Linked DNA regions of Homo sapiens: region 1 is linked to region 2. Evidence: promoter capture Hi-C in 16 types of primary human blood cells and fetal thymus (Javierre and others, 2016). All regions are on one chromosome and are shown on one strand. The core of a region is centred on a gene start or on the middle of the fragment in contact, and the rest is flanking DNA. Distances in the headings are between cores, read along the strand shown.

Region 1 (4,762 bases), core at 364-2,863, 210 kb after region 2:
GGATATGTATTTTTTATTTTTTTTACTTTTTTTATTTATTTTTTAATATATATATATTTTTATTATACTTTAAGTTCTAGGGTACATGTGCACAATGTGCAGGTTTGTTACATATGTATACATGTGCCATGTTGGTGTGCTGCACCCATTAACTCATCATTTAAAAAATGACGAGTTCATGTCCTTTGTAGGGACATGGATGAAACTGGAAACCATCATTCTGAGCAAACTATCGCAAGGACAAAAAACCAAACACCACATGTTCTCACTCATAGGTGGGAATTGAACAATGAGAACACTTGGACACAGGAAGGGGAACATCACACACTGGGGGGAGGGGGGAGGGATAGCATTAGGAGATATATTTTTTATTTTTTTTATATTTTTTAATCATTTTTGAGATGGAGTCTCCTCTGTTGCCCAGGCTAGAGTGCAGTGATGTGATCTCAGCTCACTGTAACCTCCACCACCCAGGTTCAAGGAATTCTCTGCCTCAGCCTCCCGAGTAGCTGGGATTATAGGCGCCTGCCACCACTCCCAGCTAATTTTTGTATTTTTAGTAGAGACGGGCTTTCACCATCTTGGCCAGACTGGTCTTGAACTCCTGACCTTGTGATCCACCCGTCTCAGACTCCCAAAGTGGTGGGATTATAGATATGAGCCACTGCCCCTGGCCAAGCTTACATTTTTAATATAAATAATGCTTCAATAAACATCTTACGTACTGATAAAACTTGGTCCCCATCTCGGTGGGGACAAAGGTTTAAGATAAACGTATAGTGAGGCAGTCTGAAATATTGCCAGTAGAAGGATAAATTAGTATAACTTTCCTAGAAAGCAATTTAGCATTATATATTCTAAGGTATGGGATTAATTTCATGGCTTTTGTTGTTGGGTTTTTGTTTTGTTTTGTTTTTTTGAGACAGAGCCTCACTCTGTCGCCCATGCTGGAGTGCAGTGGTGCCATCTCGGCTCACTGCAAGCTCCGCCTCCCAGGTTCACGCCATTGTCCTGCCTCAGCCTCCCAAGTAGCTGGGACTACAGGCATCTGCCACCATGCCTGGCTAATTTTTTTTTGTATTTTTAGTAGAAATGGGGTTTCACCATGTTAGCCAGGATGGTCTCAATCTCCTGACCTCGTGATCCGCCCTCCTCGGCCTCCCAAAGTGCTGGGATTACAGGCGTGAGCCACCACACCGGCCTGTTTTTTGATTTTTAAGAAGCTCTTGCTCAAGTGATGGAAATGTTCTATATCTTGATTGAGGAGTTGGTTATACAACTGGATATATTTGGCAAACTCATCAAAGAATATCCTTGATATCAGTGAATTTTATTGTCTATGAGTTATAGCTCAATAAAAAAAATTTATATGTAGCTGAGCAGAGGTGGCCCATGCCTGTAATCCCAGCACTTTGGGAGGCTCAATTGGGAGGATCATTTGAGGCCAGGGGTTCAAGAACAGCCTGGGCAACATAGTGAGACTCCATCTCCACAAAAAACGTTAAAATTAGCCAGGCATCATGGTACGCACCTGTAATCATAGCTACAGGTAAGACAAAGCACTGTAGTACCAAACTGACATTTTCTCCTTCAAATGTTCAGAAAGATAAAAAAGATAATTTAAAATGGAATAGTTTCTCACTGCATAATTCAATGTTATTTAATGCCATGCCCCAGAACCACCTGATGTCAACTGATGTTATGACTCACACACTTTGAGGAAAACTGGGCTATTACAATTCCTAAAGCAACGGGTATGATGATAATTTGGTAAAACACTTAACCAAATTTTAAAGACAGTACAACAAAATGTAAAATATCTCAGTACTTTTTTAAGTTGATTACATGCTGAAAGATAATATTTTGGATATATGGGTTAAATAAAATACACTACTAAAATTAATTTTACCTGTTTCATTTTACTTTTTTAATGTGGCCACGAGAACATTTGTGACTTGCACTGCTTTATCCATTTAATTTTGTTAATTCTCATAATGACTCAGTGAAGCAGATTTTTTTTTTTTTGAAACAGGGTCTCGCTCTGTTGCCCAGGCTGGAGTGCAGTGGCACACACACAGCTCACTGTGACATTGATCTGGGTTCAAGCAGTCCTACCACTTCAGCCTCACAAGTAGCTTGTGCTAACTTTTTATTTTTTTCTAGAGACAGGGTCTTGCTATGTTGTCCAGACTGGTCTCAAACTCCTGGGCTCAAACAAACCTCCCAACTTGGCCTCCCAAATTGCTGGGATTACTGGCATGAGCCACCACACCCAGCCAAGGTAGATATTTTTATAATTGTTATCAACTTCCTTTTTCAGATGAGGAAATCAAAGTAGAGAGAAGTTAAGTACCTTGTCCAAAGTCATAAAGCTAGTAAGTGGTAAACCTGGAATTGGGCACAGTCTGTTTCCAGTATGAGTACCTAAGCACTCAGTTGAAATAATATTTTGGAATATTTATCTAGCTATGATATTTTTAAATCCTTTGTTTATAAATGTCACCTATAAGATAGGCAAAATATGTTTTTATCAAATGGATAATATGTGAAGCTTTCAGACTACTAAGAAATATTGTAAACCAAAGCTGGGGAAAAAATAATACAGAACTGAGGGATCATTTACTTTTATTTTAAGAATTTTATCATTCAATGATGATTAAAAATGAGATTTAAGAGACAGTGTTGCTCTTTGAGTAAAAATGACTAACTTGGCCAGGCATGGTGACTCACACCTGTAATCCCACACTTTGGGAGGCCGGGGCGGGCAGATTGCTTGAGTTCAGGAGTTCAAGACCAGCCTGGGCAACATGGTGAGACCCTGTCTCTACCAAAAATACAAAAAAATAGCTGGGCGTGATGGTGCGTGCCTGTGGTCCCAGCTACTCGGGAGGCTAAGATGGGAGGATAGCTTGAGCCCAGGGGGCAGAGGTTGCAGTGAGTCAAGTTCGCGCCACTGCACTCCAGCCTGGGTAACAGAATGGGACCCTTGTCTTAAAAAAAAAAAGAAAATTAACTTGATTAATTAGTGGAAGCTTTTAGTTTCATAACTATCTGAAATGATGCCTAAGTGTTATAATAATTTAACTTTGACATGGAGTAAGTGAAATTAATACTTTTTGTAGTGAATACAGCTAAGGGCCTAAAAAATAGTTGGCATCTTGAATTTCTATACATAAGTTTGAGGCTGGTAGGGGGCTGATTCAATTTGTGTTATCAACAGGTACTTTATAGATTTCCACCTAAACAAGTAACACTAGAAACTTGGACCTTCTCCTGTAACCACCAGTAGGTTCAATCTCTGAATTATTTACAGAAAAATTAGGATACTATGACAGAATTTGCATTTCAAAGAGGCAGGAACCCAGAGGGGACTTCTCTTCACTACGGACGTTTCAGGATAAGTTTTGAAACTTTCCCAAAGAGATTTTCTTTCTTTTTTTTTTTCAGTGAGACAGAGTCTCGCTCTGTCGCCCAGGCTGGAGTGCAGTGGCACGATCTCGGCTCACTGCAACCTCCGCCTCCCGGGTTCAAGCGATTCTCCTGCCACAAAGTCCCAAGTAGCTAGGACTACAAGTGCGTGCCACCACGCCTGGCTAATTATTTTTGTATTTTTAGTAGAGATGGGGTTTCACCGTGTTAGCCAGGATGGTCTTGATCTCCTGATCTCGTGATCTGAGTGCTGGGATTACAGGCGTGAGCCACTGCATCCGGCAAAGAGATTTTCTTTGACAGCTTATTTTCCTCCAGTGACCAAAGGATTAGACATCATTGCAAGAGTTGTGATGGAGTGTGTCGCCTGTCACTGACAAGCATTTATTGAGTGCTGATTATGTGTAATGTTCTGTGCACGGTGCTAGAAAGATGAAGACATGTTCTGTATCTTTAAGGATCTCAATGTCTAATAGGAAAATAAACATATAAATGAACAACTCTAATAAGATGCCTTTTTAAAAGTTGAATTTAACCCAGGATTCAAATTTAGGCATGTCCCTTGATTCCAATTTGTTTGTGCACTGTAACGTATATTTTTTAATTAAAAAAATAGCTTTTCATTTTACCTCTGAATTGTGTGTAAAAAAGAAATTTAAAAAAGAAAAATATCTTTTCATTACAAAATCAATATATAATTCCTGTAGGAAAAAAAATTTAATACAGCTAAGCAAAAAAATAGCCATACTGCCACCATAGGGAATGTTGTCAGCCTTTTAGATCTTTTGCTATGAATGTATACACATTTTTTTTAATTTTATTTATTTATTTATTTATTTGAGACGGAGTCTTGCTCTGTCACCCAGGCTGGAGTGCAGTGACACCACCTCGGCTCACTGCAACGCCCGCCTCCCAGGTTCAAGCGATTCTCCTGCCTCAGCCTCCCGAGTAGCTGGGACTACACGCTACCACACCCAAATAATTTTTGTAGTTTTAGTAGAGACAGATTTCACCATGTTGGCCAGGCTGGTCTCAAAGTCCTGACCTCAAGTGATCCACCTGCCTCAGCCTCCCAAAGTCCTGGGATTACAGGCATGAGCCACCACGCCTGGCCAATTTTTTTTTTTTTTTAAGATGGGGTCTTGCTCTGTCACCCAGGCTGGAATGCAGTGGTGTGATCATAGTTCACTGTAACCTCAAACTCTTGGGCTCAAGCAGTCCTCCCACCTCAGCCTCCCAAGTATCTAGGACTATGGGCCACCAAGCCTGGCTATCTATCTGTCTAATCTATCTATCTATCTATTTATTTGAGATGGAGTCTCAAATATATTGC
Region 2 (4,638 bases), core at 1,662-4,161:
CTATACTACCTCATAAGGTCCCCAGATGAAAGCTATCTTGGATGCTCTTTAGGGTGAGCAGCAGGAAGGGACACTGGCAAGGAGAATCCTGGTTCAGGGCAAAGCACATGACTGTTAGGGGTGACCTAAGTTGAAATCCCAACTCTGCCACTTACTAACTGATCTCAGTCAGGGTAGTTAACCTCCCTAAGCCTCAGTGTCCATCTATTTTAACTGGGGATAATTAAATTGGGAGACTGTTTCTTGGAGTTGATGTGAGAATGTAATCTCACAGTAGATACTCTATGTTAGTTTTCTTCCTTCCTATGATGTTGAAAGTGGGAAAGAAACAGGAAGCAGCAAGGGACAACAGGGGGGTCATACTTAGATGCTGTTGCCCAGCATCCTTGCAAACAGAGTCCCAAGACACCCCTATCTATGTTTCAACTAATTCCAGTAGCTGGGCCCACATTAACTACCTCCAGAAGAACAAGGGAAGATCCAGAAAAGGGGGACCTGGAACCCAAGTAAAGTGGAGGAAAGATGGAAAGCTAAGAAAGAGGTGATGACTGTCCACTGCCACCTTGCTTCAGAATGTCATAGATAGGCCCCCTTTCCACAGATGGGGGTGAGAATGGAAATGACTGTCAAATGCATACATTTCCAACATGAGGTTCTAAGGCCTACAGTTGCATCCCATCCCTCCAGGGCCTCCCTTCCTAATCCCCCTTAATCCTTTCTGCTCCTCCTCCAGGAGTCAAGGAAGAAGGAGTCCACAAACACCGCATTGCGTAGGAGGCGGATGTAGAATAAAGGGGGTTTGGGTGTCCCCCCAAAAAAGACATTCTCCAGAGGAAGGCATGGGATAGCCCCCTTCCTTCATAGGAGCAGAGGAAGCAGGCCTAGATTCTGATCAGAAATCATCCCCCTAAAAATATCCTGCCTCCGGTGCTCCCACCCATCCAGGGCCTTCATTAAAACACACACACACACACACACACGCACACACACACACACGCCCTGGTAGAAGACGGTAAGCAATGCTATGTGGTTCAGAGAGAAGCACTGGCAAGCAGCGCCTTATCCCCTCAGGACAGATGTAAGCAGTGGACCACGGTGACCAGAAGCAGTGACCCCTATGTCACCTTTTCTTCATGGTTCAGGGCCCAACCATCCCCCATGAAAGAGCTGGAACTGCGGAATCCCCTCAGCGCATGGCAATTTGCTAGCTTTCCTCTCTTTCCTAACCAGGATCTCCCCTCCAGCCCTGAAGGAGGCAGGACCCACCAGGAGCCATACTCTATGTTTGTTGACCCTATTTCCCCCTGAGAGGGGCACGTAGGGCAGGGAAGCCTTCCACAACCACAGCAGGATATGAGGTCTCAACAGCCAGCTTCCTCAGGGCCAGCAAGCCCAGGAGGTCAGGAGAGAAAGAAAGAAGACAAATTCTTTGAGCTGGTGAGGAAGTGGTGCTATTTTTAGCCCCCAAAACAGCACAGGGTGGCTAAGCCTGGGGGAGTGAGACAAGACTTGGAGAGGTGGAGGTTAAAGGAGACAAGGTTCAGGGTTACAAGGTCCTAGGCTGGCTGACTTCACCTGACAGGAAAAAATGTGCCCAGGAGATTTTCTGCAGAGGGTGGAGACAGGCAGGGGACTCCAGAGCAAATGCTTTCTTTCAGAACAGCTCATCCAGCCCTGGGTCCAGAACCCCCCACCCTCCCAGTCAAAGCCCCTGACTTTGGGGTCCACCCAGATCCCCAGGCCTTCCTAGCTCAGGTGACAAGGTCATTAAAAAGCAATCACTTATCAAAACGTCCGCGGGGGCGGGGGTAGAATGTGGGAGGTGCGGGAGCACCCCTTCCCCATGACAGCCCGGTCATCGAACTTCAGCCCCCACCCAGGACCATCAAGACTGCGCCTCCCCTCCCCACATCCTACCAAGGTTAGGAAGATAGGAGCACCCACAGTTCTGAGGGATAAAAATGAGGGTGTCAGCTGAGAATGCACACTGAGGAATACGGAGAGGCAGAGAGGGGGACGCAGGGAGAGACCTCCGCATGCACAGACATAGAGACCGCCCCTATCAGCATTTGCAGCGACCCCCCCACACCCCATCTTGCCTCAGCTCCGGAATAAGGGAAAAGCCCCCAGAACTGACTAAATCCCTGCTCTGAGCACCTCCTCCACCCTTGGTCCTGCTGCTAGACAAGTGTCCACCTTCACTCAACATCCCTTCCCCCCACCCCGGAGCAACTGCCGCCAGCCCCCGCCATCCATGCCCCCAACACCTGGCGGCTCTACATCTCTGTCTCCCCAGTATTTCCATTCTTCACTCCCCTTCCCTCCATCCTTCACCTGCCCTTCTTCCCCTGCCCCCCACCCACCCAAGTCCAGGCGTGCACACTGAGGCAGCATCCATTCTCCAGCCCCAGCCAAGGTCATTTATCATTCATCCTGGGGGTGGGGGGACGTCAAGGTGAGGAGGGGATAGGAGTTTGAGGGAACCTCATCCCACCTCACAACCCCACCACCACGTTAATCTCCGAAGGGGATAGTGGGGACTTGGTTAAGGTAGAGAAAAACACCCCTCCTCCCCATTCACCAATATTATACATATGCGTGTGTGTGTGTGTGTCCTGAAGAGCACAACTGAAATAAATGTCCATCCCCAAACCACCACCAACCCACCAACCCCCCTCACCCCTAGAGAGGGGATCGTCACCCTCCCCATAAGCAAAGCATCGGAGGATAAAATGGCTGCAAGGCAAGGCAAAGATGCTTCTGCCAGGGGCGGGGAGGAGGTGAGCGACTGAGAAAGGGGTCTCACCTGGTCTAGGTTCCCCGGGTAAGGAGTCCCGGGCGAGGACGGGGGTCCCGGCCGCGGGCGGAGGCGGCAGCGGCGACTGCTCCCGGCACCAGGGAAGCGGCAATGCAGACCTGCCACCCCCCTTCCACCACTCCAGCCCCGCCTCCGCCCCCCCCTACCCCGCGCCACTGAGCATCGGGAGAGACCATTGGTGGGGAGAGGAGAAAAGAGGATGGGGAGGGAGTCAGGGCACGGGGAGAAATGATGAAAGGGCCGGAGGTTGTCACAAGAACAGCTGGAAATGGCACCCAGCCCTTCCCAGGCCCTTCCTAGTAAAAGATAGAAGGAACTAAAGAAAAAAACAGTGATGTTAGGAAGACAAGTGGGAAGACAGGGAGATGGGGAATGTGGCAGCCCCTTCCTTAGCACCCCAGTCTCAGTATGGCAGGACCCAATAATTTCAGGGGCTTTTGCTGCCTTCAAAACACCTCCCTTGCCTTCTCCACTGCTCTCAAACTCCTTTTTCACAACAGTCTCCCAAATCCAGAGTGCTCCTATTCCAAGTTTACCTGGACATTTTAGAGAAAGCAGAGATAACAAGGTGTGGTTTCTATCCTGAACTGCCAGAGTCAGAGACCCCTGGATTCCTTCCATCTCTTTCCTCACAAAACAGTCCAGGTTACTTATTTACAGTGGACACCTCCTCATCCTGTCCATTCAGTTGGTGGTAGCAGAAGTACTGGGGAAGTTGAGGGATTTTTACAGACCTGACCAACCGGACAGTTCCCCTTCCATTAATTTGCTCCAATGACTCAAAAAGGATCCTCTCAATACCCTTCTCCATTTTCTCTTACTCTCCTCTACCTCCCTCCCCTCCCCTCCACACACTTGTACTTCCCGGGCAGGAAGAAGTAAATTGTTTCAGCTTTTCCCTTCATCTTTCCTTTGCTCTTGCATCAATAACCTGGACTCAGAGATCCAAGACATGCCACTTGGTGACACTTGATGACCATCCCTGCCGAAGGAGTGAGAGGGAATATGGTGATTTGGGGAAATACATCCTGAATGTGTCTATGCCAGATAAGGTCAGGACCTTCCAGACAGCACTGACCTGGGCTTGGACCTGGGTTCTCACTGCTAACAAGCTGTCAACTCTTGGTCAAGTTCTCCACATCTGTGAACTTCAGGTTTCTCATCTGGAAAAGGGGGGCTTGGACTAGATACTGCATCAGGTCCCTCTCAGATCTAATAGCGTGTGATTCTGCCTTACTAAATGTGGAGGCTTCAGAATGCTGATATATATACATGGAGAAGGCTGACAGGCTATGTCCGAAGAGACCACACAGGTAACATTTGCCAGGTTGAATTTACCTCTGACAGGGACACGGGCCTGGGCTTTGCAGACTCCAAAGCTGGATCTTGGAAATAATCATTCATGCCAACAAAGTTCACAATCTTCTGAAATATAAAGCCATAATACATAAATATTAATTTATCATAAATATTTAACTGTCACTCAGACTGAAAACTCATATCTACATGTCTAGTACATTCTCTCCCTGAAGCCAAATCAGAATCATAATGTCAATGTATAAATGCACAATGACATTACTGGAGGATTTGTATCTTTAATGGCATCTGGCCATCTGCAATAAGCAGCCATGCCAATGGGTCCAGAAAACTCTTCTTGGCAACAATCTTCTACCCCCACCTCTTTGCTATTGGCAGCCTTGCCAGCACTCCTGGACTACTCTGAATGTGACGGCTTTCCAGGATGGTGCTTGGACTGGCCTCAGGGACTCTCCCTTTACTAGACTTTCATTGCTGACCCGTCTTCAGGTTAACACACATTC

The links. Contacts are between HindIII fragments. The CHiCAGO score rates a contact against its expected background, and 5 or more counts as called.
Region 1: a fragment that was not itself captured here is called in contact with the fragment with the promoter of SV2A in region 2 in 1 of 17 cell types (monocytes); the score reaches 5.2 in monocytes.

Annotation. Positions count from the first base shown.
Region 1 is chr1:150,125,310-150,130,071 of GRCh38, forward strand. The region is part of intron 14 of VPS45 (vacuolar protein sorting 45 homolog); the gene reads left to right. Among named protein-coding and RNA genes, the nearest start is that of PLEKHO1, 22 kb to the right of the region's middle. The HindIII fragment of the contact is 1,872 bases long and covers 678-2,549 here.
Region 2 is chr1:149,914,933-149,919,570 of GRCh38, forward strand. It overlaps SV2A (synaptic vesicle glycoprotein 2A), which reads right to left and starts at 2,912. Exons shown (of 13, transcript NM_014849.5): 1 at 2,807-2,912. RefSeq lists a silencer at 2,756-2,825. The HindIII fragment of the contact is 16,072 bases long and covers 1-4,638 here.